Regions from separate parts of the Homo sapiens genome. Here all the other regions are linked to region 1. Evidence: promoter capture Hi-C in 16 types of primary human blood cells and fetal thymus (Javierre and others, 2016). All regions are on one chromosome and are shown on one strand. Each heading gives the region's core, a stretch centred on a gene start or on the middle of the fragment in contact. The rest is flanking DNA. Distances are from core to core; before and after follow the strand shown. Region 1 holds the start of AUP1 (AUP1 lipid droplet regulating VLDL assembly factor). Region 2 overlaps SLC4A5 (solute carrier family 4 member 5). Region 3 overlaps MTHFD2 (methylenetetrahydrofolate dehydrogenase (NADP+ dependent) 2, methenyltetrahydrofolate cyclohydrolase). Region 4 overlaps HK2 (hexokinase 2).

Region 1 (7,337 bases), core at 1,160-3,659:
TGGTGACAGGTGTACAAAGTGGAGTGGGATAAGAAAGTCAAGATGATGAAGGGAGACAGCTCTTGTGATTATTTCAAGTGTGACACAGTTCATCTTAGATAAAGACAGAAATGAGAACAAAGCTCAATAGAGGTGCCCCCCTCTGATTACACTGGTCACATTACATGTCACTGTCCCTAAAGCTCATACCTGGGACTCAGGGTCAGCATCATCACCCCAATGTAGCGCCGCTGGGACCCACTGATTCCGGAGGAGGAATCTGTGACAGAGGGACAAATGAGCCCCACCCAGCTACATCCTTCCTTCCCTGCCCTCTTCTCCCAGTAGACCACCCTCCAGGAAGTCCCACTGAATGCCCTTCCCCTATTTCCACCACATTAAAGGAACCCGTTTCCCCATAAGGCAGGCTCACTCTTCTTTTCCCCACGATGCAGAAACTCTCGAAGACGATCAGAAGGGATGGCAAAGGAGATTCCAGCTGTGACCTTCATGGTGTTCACTCCAATCACCTCCCCATCCTGCAGGGATACAGCCCCCAGTTCCCTAGCCTAAACAAATAGTAGGGGATGGGGGCACCCGAACAAAAGTACCAGCAAGTGTTGGGGAGATCTGGTTGGATATTGAGAGATAGCCAACAAAGAACTGCTCAGAAACTTGACCAAACATCCTTGAATTAGGGGAAACCTACCCTTCCCACACTGACCTGGGGCAGGGATTCTTGGAAGGAAGGATGTCTCACTCACCAGGTTAACCAGGGGACCTCCAGAGTTTCCAAACTGTAGGACAAGGAGAAAACATGAAAGAGATCTGGGGATTCTAAGTCTGGGGGCATACCAGGATGTAGGTACTTTCTCCAAATTCTCTTCTTTCTCAGCCCATGAATAAGTGGCCACATTTTTGCAGCCTAAGCTCTATATAGGCTCATCCACCATATATCAGTTGGTGCTTGTACCACACAGCCTCTCCCCCCTCCCCCATCATTTGTCATTTCTCTCCTATCAGGACGCACATCAATAGCTGCATCAGTTTGAATGTATTCCACATTGGTTTGGGGGAGTCCCAGGTCTCTGGCTGGACGCTGAGCAGAGCTAACAATGCCGGATGTGATCGTGTTCTGCAGTGCAAAGGGACTTCCCATGGCAACAACAAACTCCCCTTGCCGGACATCAGCTGAGCGTCCCAGAGGCAGCGTGGGGAGAGGCTCCTAAGGGAGAATGGGTAAAAGAGACCTGTCATCTGAAGATGCGAGCAAATAAGCAGCTCCAACCAGACCTGGCCTACCCCAGCCCCCACCTTAGTCTGAATCCTCAGCGTTGCGATGTCTGCCACGGGATCCACAGCTGTGACCACGGCCTCATACGTGTCGCCGCTTAGCAGTCTCACACGGACTCTGCGCCGATCAGCCACCACATGGGCGTTGGTGACAATGAGCCCATCGGCAGCCACCACGAATCCTGAGCCGTTCGAGATAGGGACCTCGCGGCCCAAGAAAGGGTGCCTGAAATGGAGGGAAAGCACAGATAAGAGGAGGCTCTGACCCCTCCTACCCGCCCGCCCTCCAGCCTGTGGCTTCAGTGCCTCCCGGTCTACCCCCACCATTACCGGTCCAGGATCTCGATATAGACCACGGCAGGTGCTGTCTTCTCCACCACATCTGCGATGAAGTTGTACTGACTCCGGGGAGAAGCGGGCGGCGGGCTAGGGACGGCGGCGAGGACGGCCGGAGGACCCCGACCCCCGCCCCACAACAACAACAGCACTGCCCCCCCAGCGCCCAGCGCCACCGCCAGCCACGCGCGCGAACGGGTTCCAGAGTTCTCTGAGGCCTCCCGGGTCCTGGTATCTGGGGTCACCGCAGTCAGTTGTGCCCGGGGACCCGGGGTCCCAGACGTCAGGCATGCTCGGGGTTCAGTGACCCCAACAGACAACCGGGCCCAGAGACTGGGGGTCCCATAAGTCACTCGGGCCCGGGGGTCAGAAGTTCCTGACGTCAGCAGGGCCCGGAGGTCAGGGGTCAAACGGGGTCTCCTCCCCCAGCGAATGCCCCCCAAAGCCCGCCATGCCCGAAGGCTCCAGCCTGCACCCCGCCCCGCCCTCGGCGCAGCCATCAGCTCCGCCTTGGCTGCCTCCTCGCCCGCCCTACTCAGAGGCGGCACCCAGGACGCGAGCAGGCGGACAGTAGGACGCGGGGCACGCCGGTACCTGAAGTCCTTCAGAAGTGCACGCCGGGACCAGGATTCCGGGAGGCCGACTCCTCCCTGCCCCACGAATGCCGGGAATTGTGGTCTCCGCCGGACGCGAGTTGTGAGACGGCCCAAGGGGCCGCGGGGTATGCTGGGACCGCTAGCCCTTCCGGCGCGCCTCAGGACTTCGGGTCCCCTCACCCCGGGCGGATGCCCAAAGACTCCGCCTTCCCAAGAGCCCCTGCGGCCGGGCGCGAAAATGGCGGCGGCGGCGACGGCCGGGCGCTCCTGAAGCAGCAGTTATGGAGCTTCCCTCAGGGCCGGGGCCGGAGCGGCTCTTTGACTCGCACCGGTAAGAGACCCGGCGGGAAGAGACCGATCCCCGCGTGCTCTCGGCCTTCGGCGCCTGACCACTTCGCCTCTCGCCCCCAGGCTTCCGGGTGACTGCTTCCTACTGCTCGTGCTGCTGCTCTACGCGCCAGTCGGGTTCTGCCTCCTCGTCCTGCGCCTCTTTCTCGGGATCCACGTCTTCCTGGTCAGCTGCGCGCTGCCAGACAGCGTCCTTCGCAGGTTCCGACGCGGGCGTTCGGGGAGTGTCAGAGCTGGGTCTGGCCCGAGGCCACACAGTCACCACCTCCTGTGTCCCCAGATTCGTAGTGCGGACCATGTGTGCGGTGCTAGGGCTCGTGGCCCGGCAGGAGGACTCCGGACTCCGGGATCACAGTGTCAGGGTCCTCATTTCCAACCATGTGACACCTTTCGACCACAACATAGTCAATTTGCTTACCACCTGTAGCACCGTGAGTGAGAGCGAGGCCGAGAGCGCCACGGGGCGGTTCCCTGGGGCCCAGCTGAAGGCCCCCCTGTCCCCACTCGCGTTCCCCATGGAGGATACTGAGCCTTACCCCTAACCCCGATCCTCTACCCAACATGTCAGTTTTTTTTTTCATTTTCCTCAATATTTTTCTTCTTGCTTTCTCTTCTCCTGGTTCCCAGCCTCTACTCAATAGTCCCCCCAGCTTTGTGTGCTGGTCTCGGGGCTTCATGGAGATGAATGGGCGGGGGGAGTTGGTGGAGTCACTCAAGAGATTCTGTGCTTCCACGAGGCTTCCCCCCACTCCTCTGCTGCTATTCCCTGAGGAAGAGGCCACCAATGGCCGGGAGGGGCTCCTGCGCTTCAGGTGGGTTTAGCACAGGTATGGGGCGCCAGCTGGGTAGGTGGTCAAGCTTGTGGGCCCTTGAGTTTTTACAACTTTCTTCGGCCCTTAGACCCCATCATCTCCAGTTCATTTCCTTTCTGTCCACTTTAAGTTCTTTCTCCTGAATCCCTTCATTCTTCAATTATGTGCTTGTAGAGTTTGACAGTTGCCTGTTATAAGGCAGGTGTGAGCTGCTGACTAGGCTGGCTGGATTCCCATCCTACTTTCTCCTTCCTCTTCTAGTTCCTGGCCATTTTCTATCCAAGATGTGGTACAACCTCTTACCCTGCAAGTTCAGAGACCCCTGGTCTCTGTGGTGAGTGTGTGTTGAACAGGGAATCTCTGGGGCTTGAAGGGGAAATTTCCCATCCCTGGCCCTGGCTTAGGCCTCATCTCATGCCCTCCCCTCAGACGGTGTCAGATGCCTCCTGGGTCTCAGAACTGCTGTGGTCACTTTTCGTCCCTTTCACGGTGTATCAAGTAAGGTATTAACTGTCCTCACATTTTGGTCGCTGGGGAGAGGCTCACCTCAAGGTCAAGGAATTAGTGGCCTCTGCCCTGTCCATTTGTAGATCTTTATATCAAGGTTCTACCACAGAGGCAACACAAAGTATTTACAGTATTTACTATTTTCCCACCCACCATGCAAAGAGGTACCAAAGTGGGGAATGGTGACAGCCTCTACCCTGGGTGCCCACAACATAGCCCTGGATTGTTTCTTTGCAGGTGGCTTCGTCCTGTTCATCGCCAACTAGGGGAAGCGAATGAGGAGTTTGCACTCCGTGTACAACAGGTGGTCGGGTGCACAGACAGGGTGGAGGCGGGGTCCCTGCTTAGGAGGAGAGGGAGGAAAGCTTGAGATCTTGACACTTCCAGTCTTCCAATTCTCCCTAGCTGGTGGCCAAGGAATTGGGCCAGACAGGGACACGGCTCACTCCAGCTGACAAAGCAGAGCACATGAAGCGACAAAGACACCCCAGATTGCGCCCCCAGTCAGGTATGTGGTCTCTATACATTACAGCTTTTGGGGTTTTTTTTTTTCGGCCTACTGTGATTCCTCCCCTATTTCTGTGCTAGTTAGCCTCTCCTTCTAGTTCTCTACTTACCAGAATTTCTTTTTTCTTTTTTTCCTTTTTCCACAGCCCAGTCTTCTTTCCCTCCCTCCCCTGGTCCTTCTCCTGATGTGCAACTGGCAACTCTGGCTCAGAGAGTCAAGGAAGTTTTGCCCCATGTGCCATTGGGTGTCATCCAGAGAGACCTGGGTATGGGAAAGGGTGGCCCCACACTGGGAGATGGGCACAGGGAGGAAAAGTGGGTTGTGAAGGAAGAAAGTAAGTAGGGAGTGGACTCCCTTCTCTTTTCTCCCCAGCCAAGACTGGCTGTGTAGACTTGACTATCACTAATCTGCTTGAGGGGGCCGTAGCTTTCATGCCTGAAGACATCACCAAGGGAACTCAGTCCCTACCCACAGCCTCTGCCTCCAAGGTGAGACCCAGGAAATGGTCAGATCCAAGTGTTGGGGTGAGTTGGGGGCAGGCTATGTACTCCCTTATCCCTGACCTTTCTTTTTTGATCCTGAGACCCTAGCATAGTGCCTCTCTTGCAAAGTAGGCATTCGATGCGTGTTTAATGATGATGACTCCGCAAGCCCTCTGACATTGTGATCACCTCAGTTTCCCAGCTCTGGCCCGGTGACCCCTCAGCCAACAGCCCTAACATTTGCCAAGTCTTCCTGGGCCCGGCAGGAGAGCCTGCAGGAGCGCAAGCAAGCACTATATGAATACGCAAGAAGGTGAGGGGGTTAGAGGACAATTAATAGGATGTGGCAAATTGGAGAATGGAATTATGGAGCTACTACGGCAAAGCCTGAATAATATCTCTCCCTATGTCCCACAGGAGATTCACAGAGAGACGAGCCCAGGAGGCTGACTGAGCTCAAAGGAACAGGATGGCACCCAGAGCCGCAGGACGGAGACTGGGGGCAGCCCTCACCCAACTCACAACAGGCTGGATGGGTGGGTGGTAAAAAGGGAAGGATGAGGCTCCCCCAATGTCACATTAAATTCATGGTTTTCATTCAAGGCATCTGTTGTCTCTCTCGGTCTCAAAAGCCCTGTGAGTGGGTTCCTTATTCCTTGGCTGCGGGGGATGGGGGTGAGAGTCTTCTCGTACATTTGAAGGGGGTAGTCAGACTGCAACTGTCTAAAATCACCTCCTCATGCCAAGTGATGAGTGATAAATTAAGGAAGTGTAACTGAACTGAAGACCCAGCTTGGGTGATCAGCCCAGGTTTTGGAGGAAGCTGCTGCAAAACTACAAGTCCCAGCATGCCTTTCACAAGCACACTACACATCATCTATAGAGTTCACACATGCTCAGTGTGGTAGCTGGAGCCTGTTTTCCATAGGTTCCTGACTAGGTTAAATAAGGTGGAGCAAATAGCCCCACCCCAAAAGCAGGCTTCAGGATTTGAAGTTTGAGCCCATCCCTGAGGTAGAGCCGGAATTTACCTTTGTACTTCACACGGTCAGGGTTGGTGGTGACTACGTGGGTCTGGAGCTGACTGCCGTCCTGACACGTCCTAGAGCTGCAAGCAGGTTTGAATCCAGGATCCCTGTGACTCTGCTGTTCCTCTCCCCACCCCCTATATTCTTTATCCTTTTCCCTTCAGGACTTTCCCACAGGTTACTAGGTCTCACATAATTTCTACTGCCCTTGAGGACCCCTGCCTAAGTAAGATTTCTACTACCTGCCAACGGGGTAATAGTCTCAGGTAGATTTCTACTACCTGACTATAGGGACTGTCGACTAACTCTCAGTAGCCCTTTATCAAAATACCTAGCACTGTTTCCTGGCAGGAAATGCTGGGAAGGGTGGGCCCCAGAGCATGATCAACTGAAGGTAGAGGTTAAGGATCAGGGCTGAGGTGGGAAGATGGTGTCGGTCACCAAATATGACCTTACTGGCTGCTCTGCCTTCTGCAGGTCCTGCCAGAGAGCCACCATGACCTCTCAGCCTCTCAGGCTAGCAGAAGAGTATGGCCCAAGTCCTGGGGAGTCTGAACTGGCTGTGAACCCCTTTGATGGGCTTCCCTTCTCTTCCCGCTACTATGAGCTGCTGAAGCAGCGCCAAGCCTTGCCCATCTGGGCTGCTCGCTTTACCTTCTTGGAGCAGTTGGAGAGTAACCCCACTGGAGTGGTGCTGGTGTCTGGGGAGCCTGGTTCTGGCAAGAGCACCCAGGTGTGGTGGGGGTTGTGGGGGCAGGCAGATTCTGGGAGTGGACAAAGGGAGGACAAAGGGAGGACAAAGGGAAAGTGGCCTTTCCCTGGGCAAGGGGGGACTGGGCTGCGTGGGGTCATGAGGAAGGTGAACGAAGAGAGATGGGATGGGTTAGGTTGGCCCTGGAGGCTGGTGAAAGACCAGGGGACTCCCCAAATAAGGAAAGATTAAAGTGGCCATAGTTCCCTGAGCACTTCTGACTGAAGTCCTACATCTTCCTCACTGGCTCTCCTTCCCTACTTCTATCCCAGATCCCTCAGTGGTGTGCAGAGTTTGCGCTGGCCAGAGGGTTCCAGAAAGGACAGGTTACTGTTACTCAGCCCTACCCTCTTGCAGCCCGGAGCCTGGCTCTGCGGGTTGCTGATGAGATGGACCTGACCCTGGGTCATGAGGTTGGATACAGCATCCCCCAGGAGGACTGCACGGGGCCCAACACCCTGCTCAGGTGGGGGCCTCTGCAGGCCTTACCCGAATATAATTCCCCTTATTCAGTAGAAACAAACCCATTCCTCTGGCATCTCACCATACCCTCCCTTAGCCCAACTCACTCTTTTTTATTTTATTTATTTTGGAGAAAGGGTCTCACTCTGTCACCCAGGCTGGAGTGCAGTGGTGCAATCACAACTCACTGCAGCCTCAACCTCCCGGGCTCAAGTGATCCTCCCACCTCAGCCTC
Region 2 (6,518 bases), core at 604-3,103, 260 kb after region 1:
TTCTGAGAGTTTATCCTAAAGAAATTGTGGAGCAGGAACCAAGGATGTTCCAACCAGCCTTAATTAATAATAAAGAATAATTAGAAATAATCTGAATGTCTACCAGTTGAGAACTGTTCCTATCAATTATGGTACATTCAGACAGTGGAATACTAGAAGGACTTCAGAATGATGTTAATACTAATAGAGATGAAAGGATGTCCATTAGATACTATACCCTTAAGGTCCTTGTGGTGCCATTAATGTACAGTTAATGCAAACACAGGCATATGTGCATGCATGCACGAGGAGATCTAGAATGGCAGTTACCAAAATATCAACCATCAAGACATCAGCATGATGCCTCCTGGTTGGAGGAGCTTTGAATGACTTTGCTTTCTTCTTTTTTTATTGTTCCTAAAATTACAAAAGTAATATTCTTTATTTTTAACTTAATAGCTAACATTAACAGAGTGTATCTTGTGTGCTAGGCACTGCTCTAATTGCTGTACATTATTATTATTACTGAAGAAATCAAAGGTGATGAGAGATTAAGTAACTTACTCGAGATTTTCAGCTAGTAAATGATGGAGCTGTTATTCAAAACCTAATAGTGTTGCTTCATAGACTGTGCTCTTTTTTAAAAAAAAAAAAAATGTAGACGGACTCTCACTCTGTTACCCAGGCTGGAGTGCAGTGGTGCCATCTCGGCTCACTGCAACCTCTGCCTTCCAGGCTCAAGTGATCCTCCCAAGAAGCTGGGACCACAGCTGTGTGCCACCATGCCCAGCTAATTTTTTGGGTTTTTTGGTAGAGTCAGGGTTTCACCATGTTGCCCAGGCTGGTCTCAAACTCCTGAGCACAGGCGATCCACCCACCTGGGCCTCCCAAAGTGCTGGAATCACAGGCGTGAGCCACCTCACCCAGCCTAACCAGACTGCACTCTTGCTACACTAATTCGCCCCAATAAAGTGAAAGTCTTAAATCCCGCCCCAACAACAATCCTACTCCTCTGCTCAAAGTAATCATTGTTAACCATTTGACATGGATCCCTCCAAAACTTTTGCTTTCTCCAGACACATGTGTGCACACACACAAGTGTGTTTTTCTTTTTTATAAAATGGGATGGTAGTGTCCGTCCTGTCAGTATGTGAGTTCACCCACATATTTTTTATTTATTTCTGGGGGATATTCCACAACATGGACATACAGAATTGATGTAATCATGCTTCTACTGAAAACCTGGTGGTTTCCAGTTCTTTGGCCTAACAGACAAAGCTTCATCGAGCGTCCTTGTATACATATTACAGGGTGTGGCAGTGTAATTATATTCCTGTGATCGTTTCCTAGAAATCGAACCACTGGGTCAAAAGGCATGCACACTGAATGTTGAAACAGGCTGCCCACACCAGGAAGGCTGTGTCATTACACCTGCAGCAGATGAGAGGCCACCTCCCCATGTTTTCACTGACACAGGAAGTTGTCAATCTTTTTAACTTTTGCCAGTATTAAAAAATGAAGAATGTTATTTCATTTGTAGTAATTTAAAAGTCCATGATTACTGGTAAGGTTGAGCATCTTTTCATATGTTTATTGGCCATCTTCATTTCTTCTCAGGATTGTTTACTTTCTATTGGATAATTTGAGTTAATTGGTTAATTTCTTATTAATTCAAAGGAGCATTGTTATAAATATTAGTATTTTGATGCTTTCTTTGTTGCAGATATTTTTCTCAGTACATTACTTTTCTTTGAACTTGATTTATATGTTATTTTACTATATAGAAGTTTTCATTTATTTTAGTTTTGTGCAATCAAATCTGTCCATTTTTTTCCTTTATGGTTTTATACCTTGTTTAGGAAGTCTTTCTCCACAATATTCTCCAAGAATATAAGAATACTCTCCTATATTCTCTTCTAGTATATTTGCATTTTTGCTTATAGATTTATTTTTATCTTTAGACTTTAATCTATGAAGAATTTAGTATTGTGTTTGGTGAAAAGTAGGGATTTAACTTTCTATTTTTAGGTTGGTTGTCTTTTAAACAACTCCTTCATCAAAATCCTAATTCCGTGACTGGGCGTGGTGGCTCACGACTGTGATTCTAGAACTTTGGGAGGCCAAGGTGGGCTGATCACTTAAGCCCAGGAGTTCGAGACCAGCCTGGGCAACATGATGAAACCCCATCTCTACAAAAAATACAAAAATTAGCCAAGCGTGATGGTGCATGCATGTAGTCCCAGCTACTTGGGAGGCTGAGTTGGGAAGATCACCTGAGCACAGGTGGTCGAGGCTGCAGTGAGCCAAAATCATGCCACTGCACTCCAGCCTGGGGGAGACTCTGTCTCAAAAAAACCAACAAAAAACCTGAATTCCCATGGATATACAGGTCTGTTTCTGGACTCTTGTGCCACTGATCCCTTGTCTATATCTGGCCTGGAATCACACCGCTTTAATTACTGAAGCTTCTCCGCAAGTTTCTATATGTGCTAAGGCATGCCCCATCCCCATTTCTCTTCATTTTTGAACTTTCCTCACCATTCTCCTACATTTACCTTTTTTAGAGGAACTTTAGAATTAGATAGTCATGGTCCAAAAGTCCTCCCTTGGGATTTCAGTTGCAATAGATTGGAGCTACCCATGCATTTGTGGTTGACATCTTACAAAGGGGAGCTAGGTGTCTCCGGCCAGGACTCCTTGCTCCCCTGGCACTATCTGAGGCCTTTCTACTTGAACACCCAGCCCATGATTCCAAGTCTTCTAGAAAGGACAGATCCCTACACATCCTTGGTTTAATTTCTTTCCTTCCCTGGATGGCATGTGAATTTTTACCTGAACTTTCAGAGGCAAAAAGAGTGAAAAGCATGGAAACCTCAGACCTTGCAGGGGAACTCAGGGAGAAATACTTTTCGTCAGGGAACATTTTTCCTGCTCCCAGCAAACCACACTGAACACTCATGTGTGAACAGCCTGAGATAATCAGGTTCCAGTTGAGGCTTTTTAAAAAAACAGCTTTATTGTTCTAGAATAACTTAAAATTCTCTAATTGTAAGTGTACTGGTAAATGATTTTTAGAAAATGTATGGAATTGTGCAACTGTCACCATAATCCAATTTTAGAACATTTCCATCACTCCCAGAAGATCCCTCATGCCCCTGTATACTTCTCTGGATGCCACTTTCCTTCACATGACAGTATCAGGAGGAGTGGGGGACAAATGAGGGGATCCCCAAGAGATCCTCTGCCTGTGAGTCTGGGACCAACACCACAACCACATACATAGCATGAACCCACATGACACCCCTCTTTTGGGGAGACCCAGGTGAGGCCTCCTCCTGAGGGCCCTGGCCACACTGAGCCCCATCCTTACCCTTCCAGGTGGATAAAGTTTGAAGAAAAGGTAGAGGAAGGCGGCGAACGCTGGAGCAAGCCCCACGTGTCCACACTATCCCTGCACAGCCTCTTCGAGCTCCGTACCTGCCTGCAGACGGGGACGGTGCTGCTGGATTTGGACAGTGGCTCCTTACCACAGATCATAGGTGAGGCAGGGGCCACTGTGTGCATCTCTCCTGTGGTCCCTGCAAACCAGGGCAGCTCCCCTGACCTCATGCCTGCCCTCAAGTCTGTGTGACGGCCCGTCTCTGACACCTGATTCTGCAGAGACCAGCTTTGACTCTGTTGCTCCCAGGGCAGGATCATAGTCACTCCAAGTTTCAGTACCATGTAGACCTCCAGTAGAGAGGAAAAGACCATCCTCCAAAATGCCATCCAGAAATGTGGTAAAAGGGGAGAGGGCCTCTTGCATAGTCAGAGATACCTCTTGCCATGACAACCTGTTTCTTTTCAGGGTAAAATGGGTCATCATTCATCTTTAGGAAATTAGCTGTCATTTAGTGGTGTGTCGAAGGGAGGAGTTGGCTTGCCTTAACACCCCTAAAAATTTTTGTGAGTTTTGTTCTAGCACATTGGATTTTGCCAGAAGTATTTTGCCCAAAATACTTTTCTAAAAAGAGTTCATTTTAGGACTAAAACCATTGAACACAGTACTTTTGTGCCTCCTGGGGCAGTTTCATATGTACTGTTTATTTCACTTTTCATAAGAACATTGACAGAAAGAGCAGACACACACACACACACACACACACACACACACGTGCCCTTGAACAGGAGGAGGCCAAGAGTTGGTGATGTGCCCAGTTTTCCACAGCTAGTGGCAAAGCCAGGAGTACTTCCACACCCCCTCTGCCACATTTAATCCCACTAATAACAGGTGAAACTGAAGACTTCCATACCCTGGAGCTGTTCTGTCCCACAGGGATGAGGTGTGTATGTTTTCCACACAGATGATGTCATTGAGAAGCAGATTGAGGATGGTCTCCTGCGGCCAGAGCTCCGGGAGAGGGTCAGTTACGTCCTCCTGAGGAGGCACCGCCACCAAACCAAGAAGCCCATCCACCGCTCCTTAGCTGACATTGGGAAGTCAGTCTCCACCACAAGTGAGTCAGGCCTTACGCTGGTAGGCATGGGACATGCAGGGCCAGTATCAGGCCCTGGTACCCGGGTGAGCCCACCTTAGGGGCTGGGAGTTTCTGGAGAAATTCTGATGTTCTGGGGATCCCTCAGCCTCCTTCTCTGGCAGGCCTGTGGGGACCCCAGCCACACTCCCGTGTTGTTCCCACCACCAGAGCAGAACAATTTCTAGGGAGAGAGTTGGTTCCCAGCCAGGGCTGCATGTGGCAGATCACTTTGGGGCTTGAGATGTGTCCTAATGCCTGGGCCCCACCTTGGAGAGTTGGAGTCAATTGTTCTGGGGTATGGCCTAGAAAAAGAGAAGTTAGAATGCACCCCAAGAGATTCTTATGTCACACAGCATTGGGAAATGCTGGTAGAGATGGCTTGCTATGGAAAGGACCCAAAAGTTTCACATCAAACCCCCTAGAGAGGTCAAGAGCCTCAGCAGAAAATGGAACACATCAGGGTGGTAGAAGGGGCTGGGCTTATCTCAAGAGTGCCAGGGCTTGTAGATCTGGTGGCTGATGTCACTCTGATTAGCAGGACCTGGGGCCATTTAGAGAGAGTGGCTTGTTGCATGTACACATCTCAAATCTCCAACATTCCACTATCAGTATCCCAGCCTAGATGCCCAGGGACACTAGCCCTACTGAGCCTGTCAGACAAACACAGTAACCAGAGCAAAGTTGCTACATTAAAAACATTGAGGAACCTCTTTAAATGAATTACTTAAAAATGGGAAGTGGGCCGGACATGGTGGCCCACACCTGTAATCCCAGCACTTTGAGAGTCCAAGGTGGGTGGATTGCTTGAGCTCAGGAGTTTGCGACCAGCCTGGGTGACATGGCATAAACCCCATCTCTACAAGAAATACATAAACCTCATGGCTTAAACCCCATGGCATAAACCCCGCCTTACAAAAAATTAGCCAAGTGTGGTGGCACACACCTGTAGTCCCAGCTAATCAGGAGGCTGAGATGGGAGGATCGCTTGAACCCAGGAGACGGAGGTTGCAGTGAGCAGAGATCGTGCCATTGCACTCCAGCCTGGGCAACAGAGCAAGTCCTTGTCTCAAAAAATCGCTCCCAAAACAACGGGAAGTGTTTAACATACCATAATAGCAACAGATACATACTCAGCACTTAACTACATTCTGGGCACTATTCTGAGTGCTCTTCCTGTTTTAACTCACTTCATCCTCACAAAAATGCTGTGGCGTGTAGGTACGGTTCTTGTCTCCATTTTACAGATGAGACGCCTGAGGCACAGAGAGTTTAAGTAACTTGCCTAAGGTCACAAAGCCATTAAGTGGTGGAATCAGGGATGAACCCAAGCAGTCTACTACACCTTGTGCCCATTTAATGCACTGTGTATCTCTCTCACTTTCAACAGTACAGATATTCTCTCTAATCTTGTTCTTTTTTTTTTTTTTGAGACGGAGTCTCACTCTGTCACCCAGGCTGGAGTGCAATGGCGCGATCTCAGCTCACTGCAAACTCTGCCTCCTGGATTCAAGTGATTCTCCTGCCTCAGCCTCCCAAGTAGCTGGGATTACAGGTGCCCACCACCATGCCTGGCTATTTTTTGTATTTTAGTAGATACAGGGTTTCACCATGTTGGCCAGGCTGGTCTCAAACTCCTGACCTCAGGTCATCCACCCACCTCAGCCTCCCAAAGTGCTGGGATTACAGGCGTGAGCCATCGTGCCCAGCCTGTAATCTTGTTCAGACTATTGACTTGCTTAAATTAAAAAAAAAAAAAAAAAAAGAATTTCTTCCCAGAAGGGGAAGAGACATGTCTTGCCACCCAGTTTTATTTAGTTAAAGTGAACTAACCCAAGAGGCTTCGCTACACCAGCAAGGCTGTCGAAGCCAAGTCCCTTCTGATTCTCCTCCCAGATCGCAGTCCTGCCCGGAGCCCTGGTGCTGGCCCGAGTCTACACCACTCCACGGAAGACCTGCGGATGCGGCAGAGTGCAAATTACGGACGTCTGTGTGAGTGTGTGCTCTGCCGCTCTGTGGCAGCTT
Region 3 (7,244 bases), core at 2,557-5,056, 320 kb after region 1:
GCCATTTCAGAGGCTGATGCAGGAGGATCGTTTAAGTCCAGGAGTTCAAGGCTGCAGTGAGCTATAATCATGCCACTGCACTCCAGCCAGGGAGACAGCTGGAATCCATGTCTTATAAACAATAATAATTAATTTTTAAAAAAAGTATTTATCATCCACACCAATCCTGGGGAAGCTAACAATCCACCCTTAACACATTTCAGTTTTAAAACCTGGCTGATCTGGAATAGAACTTTGTCCAAATTAAATTGTAGAAATGCTATGGATTCAAGAGTAAACCTGCTTGATTAATCAAACAAGCTGGAAAACTACTGTTAATTTCTTTGTTGTAAATTGATCACTGTAATTTTACCTTACATGTCATTTATATTTTGTATATACATGAACATTTTAATTTCCATAGCTTTTAACAGGTTGACATAATACTTCTCCATGCAGTAAGTCAGTCATTTTTTCCACTTGTAACTGTAATTCAATAAAATTTAATCCTGTCTGGTCATCTTGCTCCACATTTAATAATCTAGGTAAGCAGGCATGGATTAGAGACATAAGCTATACGTCACTTACAAAAACATCTCCAGCAAACTATCTAAACTTCTTTAAACTCCAGAGAACTATCAAAAGAATAACGCCAGCTGGCAGAAGAACGAGGACGGAGGTAGGTCAACTCAATTGTTTCTTCTCTTTCTGCCTCAAGCTGCCTAGAGCAGGAGCTACTTCTGCTCGCATGAAAGCCAAAAGCCAAAACAGACAAACCTATCCCTGCCTCAAGTATTTTACAGATTAAGCTCCTAGCTTGGCACAACCTGTTGTGATATAAGACTGTAGGACAGGCCAGGTGCAGTGGCTCACGCCTGTAATCCTAGCATTTTGGGAGGCCGAGGCAGGTGGATCACTTGAGGTCAGGAGTTTGAGACCAGCCTGGCCAATGTGATGAAACCCCATCTCTACTAAAAACACAAAAATTAGCCAGGCATGGTGGCATGCACCTGTAATCCCAGCTACTCAGGAGGCTGAGGCACAAGAATTGTTTGAACCCGAGAGGCAGAGGTTGCAGTGACCCGAGATCATGCCACTGCACTCCAGCCTGGGCAACAGAGCAAGACTCAGTCTCAAAACAAACAAACAAAGAGACTGGAGGACGAGGCTGGTTTCTCCAAAGCTCTTTAAACCTCTGTTTGGGTGTGGGTGGCCCAGGCCTGTAATCCCAGCCCTCTGGGAAGCTGAGGCAAGAGGATTGATTGCTTGAGGCCAGGAGTTCAATACCAGCCCAGGCAACATAGCAAGACCCCATCTCTACAAAAAAAAAAAAAAAAATAGAAGAAAAAAAATTATCTATTTAAGGCTATAGAAGTAAGTGTTACTGAATATAGGAATAGCTACATTGATTAAATGAGAAAAAAACTGGTTAGGTCACAACTAGGAGTCATAGGAAGACAGAATTTCAGAAATTCATACCATACCAGACAGATGTGTTTTATTAAAAAAGAAAGAAAACCCTTTAATCAGAAAGTCTGATTAAATTCAATAGTAACTCAAACTCTTAAAAAATTTCTGGAAAAGTCAACAGGATACATACATCACAGAAAAGCAGGCAGCTGCTGACAGTTCTTTGGTGGAAAAGTAAGTTGCGTACTTACCCAAGCTGCCCAAATGATTATCAAGCCAAGTTTGTTTTTCAAAAATAGGTTTTAAGATACACCAAAGAAACTATACAATACAAAAATTTAACAATGAAGTTAAAGTATATAGCAAAAGCCAAATATGACAACACACATGTATAATGTAGAAAAGAATCCTTTCAGTCCTAGAAAACTAAAATGGGGAGAACTTACTGAAGGGTAACATACATAAAATGAGTACTAATAGCAAGGAATAATCCTAAACATTTTCCCAATAAACTGACTAAGCCTCAAAAGGACAGCTTAGGAAAATGATTAACATGCAGTTTTTCTTTTTTCCTAGCCAATTCAGTTCTACTTAGATAAATCTGGTTGCCAATCAATACATATATAAATTAATTTTTTTCTGCTCAATTACTACCATTTTTTCTTTTTCACCTTTTCCCTAATTTTCTCTAGCAACACTTTTCCTTTGGTTTGATCAGTTGAACTCAAAAGGTTTGGTACCTAAAATGAGTATCAACTGTTATTGCAATAGCACTTGGGAAATGCAATCCTAGAAAAGGCGAATGTGTAACTGAGGTGCTTGACAAAGTGAAGCATCCATCCTCCATATGGTAATGTCTCCCATATTAATCACTAGGTTAATGGCTGCTCCTGGCTAGATCACAGGACCCTGCATGATACTGGAATGCTCCCTGGTGAGGTACTGCAGAGGTATGTGCAGAAACACCCACCCATTTAAGCTTTCAATAAATACAAGGCATCATTTTAAACCATTTCAGTAGAATAAATTAAAAATATTGCATTTCTATTGGCCTGCTTTGCTTCTTGAGCTGGCCTGGAGTGCTGTTTGTGACACAGAAGACACAGTAGTTAATTAGTGGCTACCCCAAGCTCTTTAGACTTCAGCACTTCTCGCTCTTCAAGCCTCAGCACCTTTTTTGCAGCAATAATGGTATTCTTCATTAGCATTGCCACTGTCATGGGGCCAACACCTCCAGGAACTGGAGTGATATACCCAGCTTTTTGTCTGACTCCTACATAGAAACAAGACAGGCAGGCTGCTTTAGTTATGGCAAAGGACATGTGTGTACTTTAATATATTATTAAACAAGCATGCAAGGAAAAAGTAACATACATAAGCATAAAACTCAAAAATCACATCTACATCATTCAAGGTTTTGTGAACACACTAGTAAAATAACATGCACATACAGAGTTGTTCAAGGAATATTTATACATCTAAGTAACCTATAAAGAAATCTATTAAAGAAATATCTAGTAGGTTAACTGTGTGGGAGTTGTAAGTATAACAATAATAAGCATTACCTCAATACCTGCCTATAGCATTTTCTTAATTTAATTTTAAGTATAATTTGTCCAAAGCAGAAAGCACAGTAATTTTTTAAAAGTGAGAAGTTAAAAAAAAAATTAACCTAATGTTAAAGTGAAAATCCTTACATACCTAGGCATGGGTTTGACTGCTTTAATAAAAACAGAAAGCTAGGAATAGGATTATCAGCATAGGCCGGGTACAGTGGTTCATGCCAGTAATCCCAGCACTCTGGGGGGCTGAGGCAGGGTGTGAGGTGGGGGAGATTGTTTGAGGCCAGGAGTTTGAAACCAGCCTGGGCAACATGGTGAAACCCCATCTCTACAAAAAATACAAAAATTAGCCAAGTGAGGTGACATGTGCCTATAGTCCCAGCTACTCAGGAAGCTGAGGCAGGAGAATTGCTCAAGCCCAGGAGGCAGAGGTTGCAGTAAGCTGAGATCCTGCCACTGTACTCCAGCCTGGGCAACAGAGAGGGATCCTGTCTCAAAAAAAAAAAAAAAAAAAAAAAAGGAAAGAAAAAAAGGATTATCAGCATAAAACTCGGATAAACATTCTATCTTAAGAACTGAAAGGAGAGGCCAGGTGCAGTGGCTCACACCTGTAATCCTAGCACTGTTAAAGGCTGAGGCAGGCGGATCACTTGAGGCCAGGAGTTCAAGACCAACCTGGCCAACACAGCCAAATTCATCTCTACTGAAAATACAAAAAATTAGCCGGCATGGTGGCTCATGTCTGTAATCCCAGCTACTTGGGTGGCTAAGGCAGAAGAATCACTTGAACCTGGGAGGTGGAGGTTGCAGTGAGCAGAGATCACACCACTGCACTACAGCCTGGGCAACAGAGTGAGACTCTGCCTCTTAAAAAAAAAAACAGAACTGAAAGAAGAAATCTACTAGTATATTCTAGTATTTCAGGGGTATGGTTTTTTCCTGGACCATTTTAACTTTCTAGGCCTGTGATCTCTCAGTGTGAAAATGAGAAATCTCTAACACTTTTTGGGAAACTCCATGGTTTAGAAAAATCACTTCATCAAATTTTCAAACTTGTTAAAAGTCAAGAAATTGCTTGAATTATGAAATAAGTCTAAGGAAAAAAACAATTCCCTGAAAAGTTTATAACTGCTCTCCATCACTATGATAAAACACCTAAAATAATTCTAGAAAAGCCATAATTTTAAAAAGGTTTCTCTAATTCTTATGAAAAGCCTACTAAGGCCAGGTGCAGTGGCTCATACCTGTAATCCCGGCACTTTGGGAGGCCAAGACGGGTGGATCACTTGAGGCCAGGAGTTCCAGACCAGCCTGGCCAACATGGTGAAACCCCGTCTCTACTAAAAATACACAAAATTAGTTGGGCGTGGTGGCCCATGCCTGTAGTCCTGGCTACTGGGGAGGCTTGAAGCACAAGAATCGCTTGAAGCTGTGAGGTGGAGGCTGCAGTGAGCCGAGATGGTGCCACTGCACTCCAGCCTGGGTGACAGAGTGAGACTGTCTCAAAAAAAAAAAAAAAAAAAAAAGAGAAAGAAACGAAGGAAGAAAGGGGTGGGGGGAGAGGAGGGGAGGGGAGGGGAAGGAAGGAAGGGAGAGAGATGGAGGGAAGGAAGGAAAGAAAGAAGGAAGGGAAGGAGAGAGGGAGGGAAAAGCATACTGACTGGGCGCAGTGGCTCACACCTATAATCCCAACACTTTGGGAGTCCCAGCTACTCGGGAGGCTGAGGCAGAAGAATAGCTTGAACCCAGGAGGCAGAGGTTGCAGTGAGCCGAGATCGCGCCACTGCACTCCAGCCTGGGCAACAGAGTGAGACTCCCATCTCAAAAAAAAAAAAAAAAAAAAAAGTAAATAATCTATCCTAAATGTCCATGAAAGGTAGTATTTATTGATTTCATTTTTAAAAATAAAATTTCACCATTTACCTTCAAAATCCACATCTCCAACCAACTTGGGTTTGGCAGTTACAGGATCGTGAACTCTATTTATTCCCACATCAATGACTGCTGCTCCTTCCTTGATCATATCTGCTGTGATCAGATTTGGAATACCTGGAAATGGAGAAAGGAAAGATCAACTTAGTACTGAAAACAGTCTACCTGTCAGATTCTTGTCTAACTTCAATTTCAAGAGACCCTGAAGAACTAATCAACATGTTTTATTAAAACCTGTTAAAAATATTAACTAAGGAACTATTTACTTTTATTATTTTTTTATTTTGGCTCCTGACAGGAAACAAAAGGAACCATTTAAACTTTATACAGTAAATATTAATATAAATATTTTGAAGCTTTAGGAATAACATTCACCCATCTAGACTATAATGGACTGCCAGAAACCGGTATTCCAATCACAACTCTATCCTCATCTTTGTAGGCAGCTCAAAGAATCATTACAAGGGGAATGATGAATAGCAGCTAGGCAGGCGAATTCTAAGATGAGGGGTACAACCTCCTCTTCTGAGGTGAAGTCCTTCCCTCCATCCCCCTTGTGTTCTTACCTGCAGCAGATATTACAATATCTGCAAGAATTGTATGTTTCTTCAACTGCTCTTTGGGAGTATATCGATGAGATATTGTAACAGTGGCATCACCTAGAAAGAAAAAAATAGATGTCTTGATTTCTGACACAAAGCTGGGATTGGATTAGGTCTCAACTAGTCAAGTCATTGTAGAAACTCAACATCTCTGAAAAATAATTGACTTACGGCCAGGTGCAGTGGCTCACGCCTGTAATCCCAGCACTTTGGGAGGCCGAGGTGGGCAGATCACCAGGTCAGGAGTTCGAGGCCAACCTGGCCAACATGGTGAAACCCCGTCTCTACTAAAAATACAAAAATTAGCTGGGCGTGGTGGCGCATGCCTGTAATCCCAGCTACTTGGGAGGCTGAGGCATGAGAATCACTTGAACCTGGAAGGTGGAGGTTGCAGTGAGCCAAGATTGTGCCACTGCACTAGCCTGGGCAACAGGGCAAGACTCCATCTCCAGGAAAAAAAAAAAAAAAAACTGACTTAATGGCTTGTGCCATGTTTTCTGAACAGCTAATTGTCATTTACTTTTTTAAAATTAATACCTAATATCATATAGCTTTAACCCATTGGTCCCAGCTCGACTGTTTTGAGTCATATAATTAAATTTATTCATCCTATTTTTAAAGCCTTTCAAGAATTTTACCTTTTCTAAGCAAAATATCACTAAAATTACTCAAGGTTGTTTTAAGTATGTTGAAAGATAGTTGAAAGTATATAGTTTTGCCTTTATTTCTGATATAATCATGTAAGGTCATTATTACAATAATTATGTGATAACTGATTGACGAGGCTTTACCTTAGAACCAATTAACAGAACCTGACAGGACACATTACAGTCATACCAATCCAATCCTTTGCAACGGCTAAAGATTTTTTTCCACTAAATGACACAGTATCTTTGAATAAGAATTGCTCCTTAGCTCCAGCTATCAAAGCTATAGCTGAAATTTTCTAATTGCCTACAACCATGCTTATACTCAAAACTTAAATTTATTTCTGAAGCTAGTTACATGATAAATGAATAATAAAGAAACTCAGGTGACACTGGGTGCAGCTTCTCTACAAAGGTTACTCCCTGAATTGTCTGTTAACAAAATTTCAACAAATACAAAGTATAACAGAGTTAATACTTCCAAACATGCACAGGATGGCTTCTGAAAGTTCTTACATGGGGAAAAAAGGACAGTGTTCCCTGAAAGCAATTTCCTTACCTCCGGGACGTTCATGCGCCCCATCTGTGTGCAGTAACATTGCAATGGGCATTCCAACGTTTTTTGACCTTCCAGCCACAACCACATTCTTCCCTAGGGTTGGAATGCCTATAAAAATATATGTATTGACATTAAAAGTAGTGCCAGTCCAAAGGAAAACAAAGTCAGATGGCCTAGAACATGAACCCAATTTTGCCTCATCAGTCAACTGGAGCTGTAACTTGCTACACATAATAAGGGCTAAAAGAAAACAGGAGAAAGCATACTACAGGCTACAAAATGTTACAGGAATGTGCACTGTCACCACTATCAAATCTTAAATTTCCTTCACTGAGGGCTGGGGCGGTGGCTCACACCTGTAATCCCAGCAGGAGGGAGGATTGCTTGAGGCCAGGGAGGCTAAGGTAGGAGAATTGCTTGAGGCCAGGAGTTTGAGACCAGCCTGGGCAGCATGATGAAACCTCTGACTCTTAAAGAAAAAATTAAAAAGAAAAATAGAGGCCACGCGCGATGGCTCACACCTGTAATCCCAGCACTTTGGGAGGCCAAGGCA
Region 4 (7,347 bases), core at 1,901-4,400, 350 kb before region 1:
ACAAGTAGGCCCCATTCCTTCAAGAGTTTCCCCTTAAAACAAAGTCATTGGCACTGTTCCACTGCTCCATTTGGCTCCAAAGACACCTCCTCTCCACCATCTGGTCCCTGAAACACCAGGACTTCTTCAATCTACAAGTGGAAATCTCAAGAACAGTAAACGAGGCCCGCCTGACTCTTGGGATATTGTTAACAACAACAAAAATCAAGCCATCCTCACTCTTGCCCCTGCTGGGCTGTGAAAATGCAGGCCCCAGCTCTGCTTATTAGAATTAATTGGGTAGCTATATCTCTGGCCAATTCAAAGACCTAGCTTTCTATTATGAAGCAGGGGTCATGACAGAGTCCTTTTTGAGAATTGCCAATAGGGAATCAGATGTCAGAGCTTCAGGAGAAGGAAAAGGAGGCAGATGCAGCTAAGTCTTTCGGGGGCCCTCTGGGGTCCTCCAGCTTTAAACCCAGTGCAACAGCCCAAGTCCCTGCATATGGAGGCCAACCACCGTTCCCAGTACCATGAGTCACTGGTAGCAATCACAATCGAAATCGACAAGAGTGGAGACTGGTAAGTGAAGTGAAGCCACAGGCCCGCCATGGTCCACGTCATGTGAGACCCTCTTGCAGTCTATACTTGAAGAGTCAAAAGGTACAGCCCCCTCCTCATTCCCCAACTACCCGTCAACTCGTGTGGTGATCCAGCAAATAGAGGGGGCTGGCCAGAAGCTCACCCTTCAATGTCTGAGATGTCTTTGGTCTCAAAGCGACCGGTGTTGAGAAGCTCTGGGCTGAGCTTCCCCCCAAAGAGCAGCTCCTCCTTGGCCATCTTCACCAGGATAAGCCTCACCAGCTCCCCCATGTACATCCCACTGATCATCTTCTCAAACCTGCCGGAAGACACAAACCAAAAACATAAAGTCCCCACTGCCCATGTACTCATAGCTTCCCTGTTGAAGCAAGATGCGCACACGTGCAACTTCACAACTAAGGGTTAATGTGTGCAGCACGGCCCAGGAGTAAGATACGTGGAGAGGTGACGGCTCAGAGGGGCTGGCTTGGGTTGTCCCTGCAGGCTGATGGGCCTTGACCTATGGAGAAGAATAAATGAAACTTAAGCAGCCAAATGAAACACACAGGGAGTATGGAACATTCTGGAACAGCCTGTATTTTAGGTAAAGTTATGCGTAGGGTGGTAATCTTTAAAATTCTTCTCTAGCCAGGAAATCATTTTTAAAATTAATATCTTACATAGCCCAATATTTATTTACAAGAGAAAAAAGGCGATCTGATTAGATATGTAGCACAGGCCTAGAAACTCATCAGCTCATACTGTCCACCCCTGCAAGCCGTTCATGGGCTCCAGAGAAAATGGTGTGAAAACCACCTGGGGCAGGGGATGATGGGGCAACATTATAAAGGCAGGTTGGGATAGAGGAATCTGCACTGGGCTCCGAGCTCTAAATGACAGGTCTCAGGGGTCTGGGAGTGAAACAGGCTTCTAAGCAGGCAGGTGACAAGATGTTTTAGAAAGGCAGGGGACGGCCCCCAAACCAGCAGTGCGGTCCGGTGATTTAATTTTAACACTAGGTGGCACTGTTTTCTTTCATAATTGGTCTTTCTGACTAGAACTGAGAGGAAACCAAGCCCTGGTGATAATTCTTTTTGACAAAAGGCCCATTTCTGGGTGTTTGAGAAAGAACCTGTGTCTTAGAGGAGGCACATGGGCCTGCTGCCACTAACTAGGATGAGCCCCAGCGAGGAGGAGGCCCAGGACTGAGATGTGGAAGGGATTCCAAGGTTACCTTTCCGAGAGGAAACCCAGGCCTCCAGGAAGCAGCCTGCTCAAGACCCAAGGCCGAGTACAGCAGCATCAGGGCTAACTGAGAGCTGGCAAAATTGTGAAGATGACAGCGCGCATTTTAAATGTTAGTGCACCCACACAGGCAGAGCTTCAGGAGAAGGAAACCAGCGTGGATGGGAGCCTGGCTTCAACAGTAAGGAACTCCGTGTTGCTAAGTTTTTATTCTAGTTTTTAAAAACACTTTGTTCCAGTCAACATTTGGAAGATACTTACTTGGAAATATATTAGAGGGGACAAAAATTGTCTGTAGTGACTTCAGGGCTACCATGGATGACAATTTGGTGGGTGTCAAAGGATAAGCCGGGGGTGTGCTGTCATGGTCTGGCTGGCAAATTTGTCTTTTGACATTTGAAAGGGCCTTTAGTTCCTCGGAATGACTTGGGTGTGCCTCATTCATGGAGGCAGGCACTGAGTGACTTTTCAGCTCATAAACCTCTCATCAGCCATGGCAGACACAACCAGTATGATCCTCAGAAATTTCAAGTAAAGGACTCATTTCAACATGTGAAACAAGCTTGTGACTTAGATAAATAAACCATGCTTTGACAAAGCAAGGACTCTCAGGCCGGGCGCGGTGGCTCACGCCTGTAATCCCAGCACTTTGGGAGGCCGAGGAGGGCGGACCGCCTGAGGTCGGGAGTTCGAGACCAGTCTGGCCAGCATGGTGAAACCCTGTCTCTAATAAAAATACAAAAATTAGCTGGGCGTGGTGGCAGGCGCCTGTAATCCCAGCTACTCAGGAAGCTGAGGTAGGAGAATCGCTTGAACCCGGGAGGCAGAGATTGCGGTGAGCCAAGATTGCGCCATTGCACACCAGCCTGGGCAACAGAGAGAGACTCTGTCTCAAAAAAAAAAAAAAAAAAACGAAAGCAAGGACTCTCCTGGGTTACCCACCACTGACTTGATTTATAGGGTTCAATTTTCCTGTCCAAGTAGAGATCTGCACGAAAAGCTTTTCTACAACAGTCACAAGACCAGAGATGATCTGTATTGCTCAAAATATTTTGCAACTGCTTCAGACCTTGAAGCAATCCCTGTTTCAAGATCTTTCACACGCACATTTGGCAAATGTTTGTGAGGGTGAAATAAGGTTTTGTAAGAGATAAAAGCAACTAAAAACAAAGGCAGGCCAGGCTGGAGAATACAATATTCAGGATCCAAAATGCTAGACGCCCCTCCTCCAATCCATCCCAGGACATAGTTGGGCCAAGGTCCAAGTGAAGGAGGCCAAGGAAGCTCCTCAGCCAATGTCTCCAGGGGCCATGGGTCTGCCTGCAGCTGCAGCAGGAGGCCCTGGGACCCCAGGGAGCAGCAATGAGCAGCCAGCTGTCAGCCTGTCCTCTGGGTGGTGATGGAGTTGGAGCTATGAAAGGAGCTTTCAGAGACCCCAATCTTGGCCACCTCAACACAACTTTCCTTAGGTGGCTCACAGTTCCCATGGACAATTTACAAATAGAAGGTGGAAAGAAAGAGCAGGGCCACCCACTTACACTCAGAATAGAACCTTCCAAAATGACTCCTGTGAAGGAAACACATTATTAGCTATAATCTGGTATATCCGCTTGCTCTCTGTTTTAGATCCTCTCAGCAATTTATAGTCACAGACATTCCTATGACCAGTGGCCACCTTGGCAAGCTTTGGGGATGTAAGACTGTAAAGAAACAACCCCCTGGCCCCGACCAGCCCCAGACTCAGCTCCAGGCCCCCGCCAAGCCCACTCGCACAGGAAGGGCCTACTCACAGTTGCTTTCCCGGGTTCAGTGAGCCCATGTCAATCTCCTGGTCAAACTCAGTGCGAATGTCGTTGAGCGAGCCATCGTCCCCGAAGGCCCCCCACTCCATATTGATACACATCCGCCCCTCATCGCCTTCCACCATGTCGATGTGGCGCATCTCTTCCATGTAGCAGGCGTTGCTGCCCGTGCCTGCCAAAACAAGGGACGGCTATGCACACGCCTGCTCCGGCCCCTTCCCACCCCTCTTCCCTCTTATACTACTGTCCCGAGACTGCCCGGCCAGGATGGCTGGGATTTCTCACTGCAGACTCTGGGGGCATCACAATACATGGTCTAATCTTCTGCCACCCCCAACTCCATGAGTCCCTGCTCGGCTCTCCAAAGTGACTGGACCATTATCTTCTAATATGAACTACAAAGGAACACCCAGCCCATGGGCCCCTTCTCCCTTTCCAGCCCACACCCCCATCCCTTGGCCAGCACGGGCCCTTCATGCACGGTGTTCACTCACCCACAATGAGACCAATCTCACAGTTGTGGTCATCATAACCACAGGTCATCATGGTCCCAACTGTGTCATTCACCACAGCCACAATGTCGATATCAAAGTCCTGTGGAGACAAATGGGAGGGCTCTGACCTTCATCATCACAGAGGGCGACTTTCCTAACACCAGCTATATATCACTCCTCCTCCTCCTCCTCCTCCTTCTCTCTCTCTCCCCCCTCCCTCCCCATAACTCCTCCTGTGATAAGACTTTTAATTCATTCTCTCTCTGAGCCATTCCACTCCCATGTCAACATCATTCCAACTTTCTTACTTGGAAATCACATTCAAGTCTTCTTCAGGTTAAGAACTAAAGAGCTTTTCTTGTGCCAAGGCTAAGATTATTTATCCATTTGATAATCTAAAAACCCCCAAAGCAGCAGATCGCATACAAAATTATTGAGTACATGTGTCAGGGAAAAGAGAACTCTCCTTAAGCTCCACGTAAGCAAACAATGATGAGTCAAGGACACTCAGGGAGTCTTCAGGGTGGACCCAGAAAAGCCCACAGACCCCAAGCTCCTGCCACCCCACTCACCCCTCTCCTCTGGATGGCCTTCCGGATCAGAGCCACAACGTCTCTGCCTTCCACTCCACTGGACTTGAATCCCTTGGTCCATGAGACCAGGAAACTCTGGAAAGGGACCAAGAAGTGAATATTGATTTCCCACTAAAACTGAAACTCACACCACACCCCTCAAACCTCCGTCATTAGCAGAGACCTCTGCCACTGGGGTAAAGTCATGATTGAATTTGTGTGTTACTTCCTGGCTAGCCTAGGAAAAAGAAACTCAGGACAACTGGCACTATAAGACACAGTCATGTGCCGCATAACAATGTTTCAGTCAGTGACAGATTGTGTATACTGCGGTGGTAACAAGATTATAATAGAGCTGAAAAGTTCCTATTGCCTAGTTAGATACACAGATATCACTGTGTTACAATTGCCTATAGCATTCAGTACAGTAACATGCTATACAGATTTGTGGCCTAGGAGTTAACAGGCTGTCCCATACAGCCTAGGTGTGTAGTAGTCTATACCATCTAGGTTTGTGTAAGTGCACTCTATGATGTTTATACATAAGTGAAATCACCTAATAAAGCATTTCTCAGAACATATCCCCATTGTTATGCAATACATGACTGTACTTGTGTCCTTACATCATTAACTCTCCAAGTATCTTTCTTCCAAGGGTCTTTATCATAACACTTTAGACTGGGGAGTTCCTGATTTCTCATTCCTGTTTCTGTGGAGGGGATAAGGATACTGTGCAATGTGTGTGGGAGAGAGGGTGATAAAGGGCACTCCCAACCCCCCAGATTTCTTCACCAGCCCCCCCATCGACATACACAGTCACCCAGAAAGGCAGAACTTCATCTCCACAATCCTCCAGTGCTACCACCACCACCACAGCAGGTGGCTCAGAAGTCCCTCTCAGCCCTCCCAGCCCCAAGAGTGAAGCAACAAGTGTCTGAGGAGCCCATCTTACCTCGTCTAGTTTAGTCTGGTGGCAGGGGAACGAGAAGGTAAAACCCAGTGGGAGCTTCTTGTCTTTGATTTGTAGCTTATCCATGAAGTTAGCCAGGCATTCGGCAATGTGGTCAAACAGCTAAGGATACATGACACAGGGTGGTGAGCAGAGAGGTCGAACAGCATAGAGATTAAGGGCATGCACTTCAGGCTCAGCACGTAACTAGCTGAATGTGTGCAAAACCCATATCTCCTCTGATATCTTCATTTGCTCACCTACAAAAAGGGAATTATAACTGGACCTGTCCTCATGGAGTTATGAAAAGGAGTACATGAGTCAATACATAAAGGCTTAACATTAGTTTTTGCCCACTAAATATTGTCCTCTACTTAAGCCATTTTTCTAAACTGCTGTCAAGATAACCCTGTGAGGTAGGGGAAATCATGGCCAACATTAATCAGAAAGTCACTTCATGCCCGGGGAACAGAACATTCTTTGGTGGCCCTGTCAGAAACCCATTGACATGGAAGCCCAGTTGACGATCATACCAAAGGCCAGCCCATCTTGCTGCCAAGAAGTATTTTAGTATCCCTGTCTCTGGTGATGGGGTGGGGGGTGGTTTGCAGGGACAGCATTCTCTGTTGGCATTCTATGAACCAACTTAACAAAAACAAGTAATTTTTATATTTTTTTCTCCATTCTAGAAAACTAATCTCCTGAGGGCAATTCAAAGAAGTTATCTTTGTTTTCTAACTTTCTAAACAGAACATCCAGTAAGTCCATGAAGAGCGCTGAGAAATAAATCACATTTTGTGGGTGAGCAGCCTCACAACCGTGACCGCACGCACTCACTGTGCAGGACCCAGAGCTCCTAAGCCTTAAAAAAGCTGTATTCATAATAAGCCAGGCTTTCAATCAGCCCCAAAGCCCACAATCCCCTGGCGTCCTTCTTGCCCCACCCTACACGCTCAAAGAGAAGCTGCTGACCCTTTAGGTGAAGGCTGAGACTAGAGGCATTCAGGTGTAAAAAGTAAGCAGAGGCCAAAGAGGCTGGGCAGATTCCAAGGGCCAGGTTGACTACGTGGCAAAATCTAAAAGCCAAGGTGGATAAGAGGTCAACTATCCTTTTCCTATCCAGGAAGGTGCAAGAAGATTCGACTAAACCATGGCTTTTCAAAGTGTGCTCCTGGAACAGCAACCTCACTCCCTTAACCTGGGAACATGTTAGAAATGTACATTCTAGGGTCTAGGCCCGCCCCCACAGACCGACTATAGCAGAAACTCTGGGGGTGGGGCCCAGCCATCTGTTAGCAAGCCTTCCGCCCTCCAGGTGATCCTGGAGCAGTAGGTTGAGAACCACTATGCCAAACCACAGAAAGTTCTTACATTTATAAAGGAACTGAGAGGTTGGGAGAGGGAAACTGACAGACCTGTTGGATCTCCTGATGCCTAGGGTATGGTCAGCAGGAGGGACCCAGGAAGACAAGGCCACCCCAATCTGGAAGATGGCCAGATCTAACTAAACTTCCCACATCCATTCTGTCTGTCCCTCTGTCTGATCCCATGCAAAGTTAACAACAGCTGAGGCTGAACCTTCGACCTCCAAACCAAAACATTTTCAAGAGCAAAGGCTGGGGAGGACAAGGCTCTCTTGCCATGGGGATCACCAGTGCAGGTGAGCCAACTCCCTTGAACAGAGTTCAAGTATTTTAACATGAAAATAGGGATATATTCAGCAA

Evidence for each region. Contacts are between HindIII fragments. The CHiCAGO score rates a contact against its expected background, and 5 or more counts as called.
Region 2: a fragment that was not itself captured here is called in contact with the fragment with the promoter of AUP1 in region 1 in 5 of 17 cell types (naive CD4 T cells, total CD8 T cells, naive CD8 T cells and 2 more); the score reaches 7.6 in naive CD4 T cells.
Region 3: a fragment that was not itself captured here is called in contact with the fragment with the promoter of AUP1 in region 1 in 1 of 17 cell types (total CD8 T cells); the score reaches 5.2 in total CD8 T cells.
Region 4: a contact is called between a fragment that was not itself captured here and the fragment with the promoter of AUP1 in region 1, in 1 of 17 cell types (monocytes). The highest score is 6.7, in monocytes.

What each region holds. Positions count from the first base shown.
Region 1 is chr2:74,524,778-74,532,114 of GRCh38, reverse strand. It overlaps AUP1 (AUP1 lipid droplet regulating VLDL assembly factor), which reads left to right and starts at 2,409. Exons shown (of 12, transcript NM_181575.5): 1 at 2,409-2,535; 2 at 2,616-2,753; 3 at 2,833-2,983; 4 at 3,180-3,364; 5 at 3,626-3,698; 6 at 3,794-3,867; 7 at 4,109-4,175; 8 at 4,277-4,379; 9 at 4,525-4,644; 10 at 4,752-4,867; 11 at 5,056-5,174; 12 at 5,279-5,463. The coding sequence starts at 2,486. The coding sequence ends at 5,315. It overlaps HTRA2 (HtrA serine peptidase 2), which reads right to left and starts at 2,182. Exons shown (of 8, transcript NM_013247.5): 1 at 1,603-2,182; 2 at 1,294-1,498; 3 at 1,010-1,204; 4 at 744-776; 5 at 413-518; 6 at 190-259. The coding sequence starts at 2,108. It overlaps DQX1 (DEAQ-box RNA dependent ATPase 1), which reads left to right and starts at 5,884. Exons shown (of 12, transcript NM_133637.3): 1 at 5,884-5,979; 2 at 6,367-6,622; 3 at 6,913-7,106. The coding sequence starts at 6,386. RefSeq lists enhancers at 1,076-1,285, 1,296-1,375, 1,406-1,475, 1,496-1,625, 2,081-2,963 and 2 more and a silencer at 2,016-2,105. The HindIII fragment of the contact is 3,652 bases long and covers 1-3,412 here.
Region 2 is chr2:74,262,104-74,268,621 of GRCh38, reverse strand. It overlaps SLC4A5 (solute carrier family 4 member 5), which reads left to right. Exons shown (of 31, transcript NM_133478.3): 9 at 3,358-3,518; 10 at 4,323-4,475; 11 at 6,390-6,485. Among named protein-coding and RNA genes, the nearest start is that of MTHFD2, 67 kb to the right of the region's middle. RefSeq lists an enhancer at 1,360-1,439. The HindIII fragment of the contact is 1,187 bases long and covers 1,260-2,446 here.
Region 3 is chr2:74,209,497-74,216,740 of GRCh38, reverse strand. It overlaps MTHFD2 (methylenetetrahydrofolate dehydrogenase (NADP+ dependent) 2, methenyltetrahydrofolate cyclohydrolase), which reads right to left. Exons shown (of 8, transcript NM_006636.4): 5 at 6,692-6,799; 6 at 5,450-5,542; 7 at 4,875-5,000; 8 at 1-2,662. The coding sequence ends at 2,499. SLC4A5 (solute carrier family 4 member 5) reads left to right here. Exons shown (of 31, transcript NM_133478.3): 31 at 1-499. Among named protein-coding and RNA genes, the nearest start is that of MTHFD2, 15 kb to the right of the region's middle. The HindIII fragment of the contact is 2,871 bases long and covers 2,371-5,241 here.
Region 4 is chr2:74,870,699-74,878,045 of GRCh38, reverse strand. HK2 (hexokinase 2) reads right to left here. Exons shown (of 18, transcript NM_000189.5): 4 at 5,627-5,746; 5 at 4,675-4,770; 6 at 4,103-4,202; 7 at 3,597-3,780; 8 at 725-880. Among named protein-coding and RNA genes, the nearest start is that of LINC01291, 35 kb to the left of the region's middle. The HindIII fragment of the contact is 684 bases long and covers 2,809-3,492 here.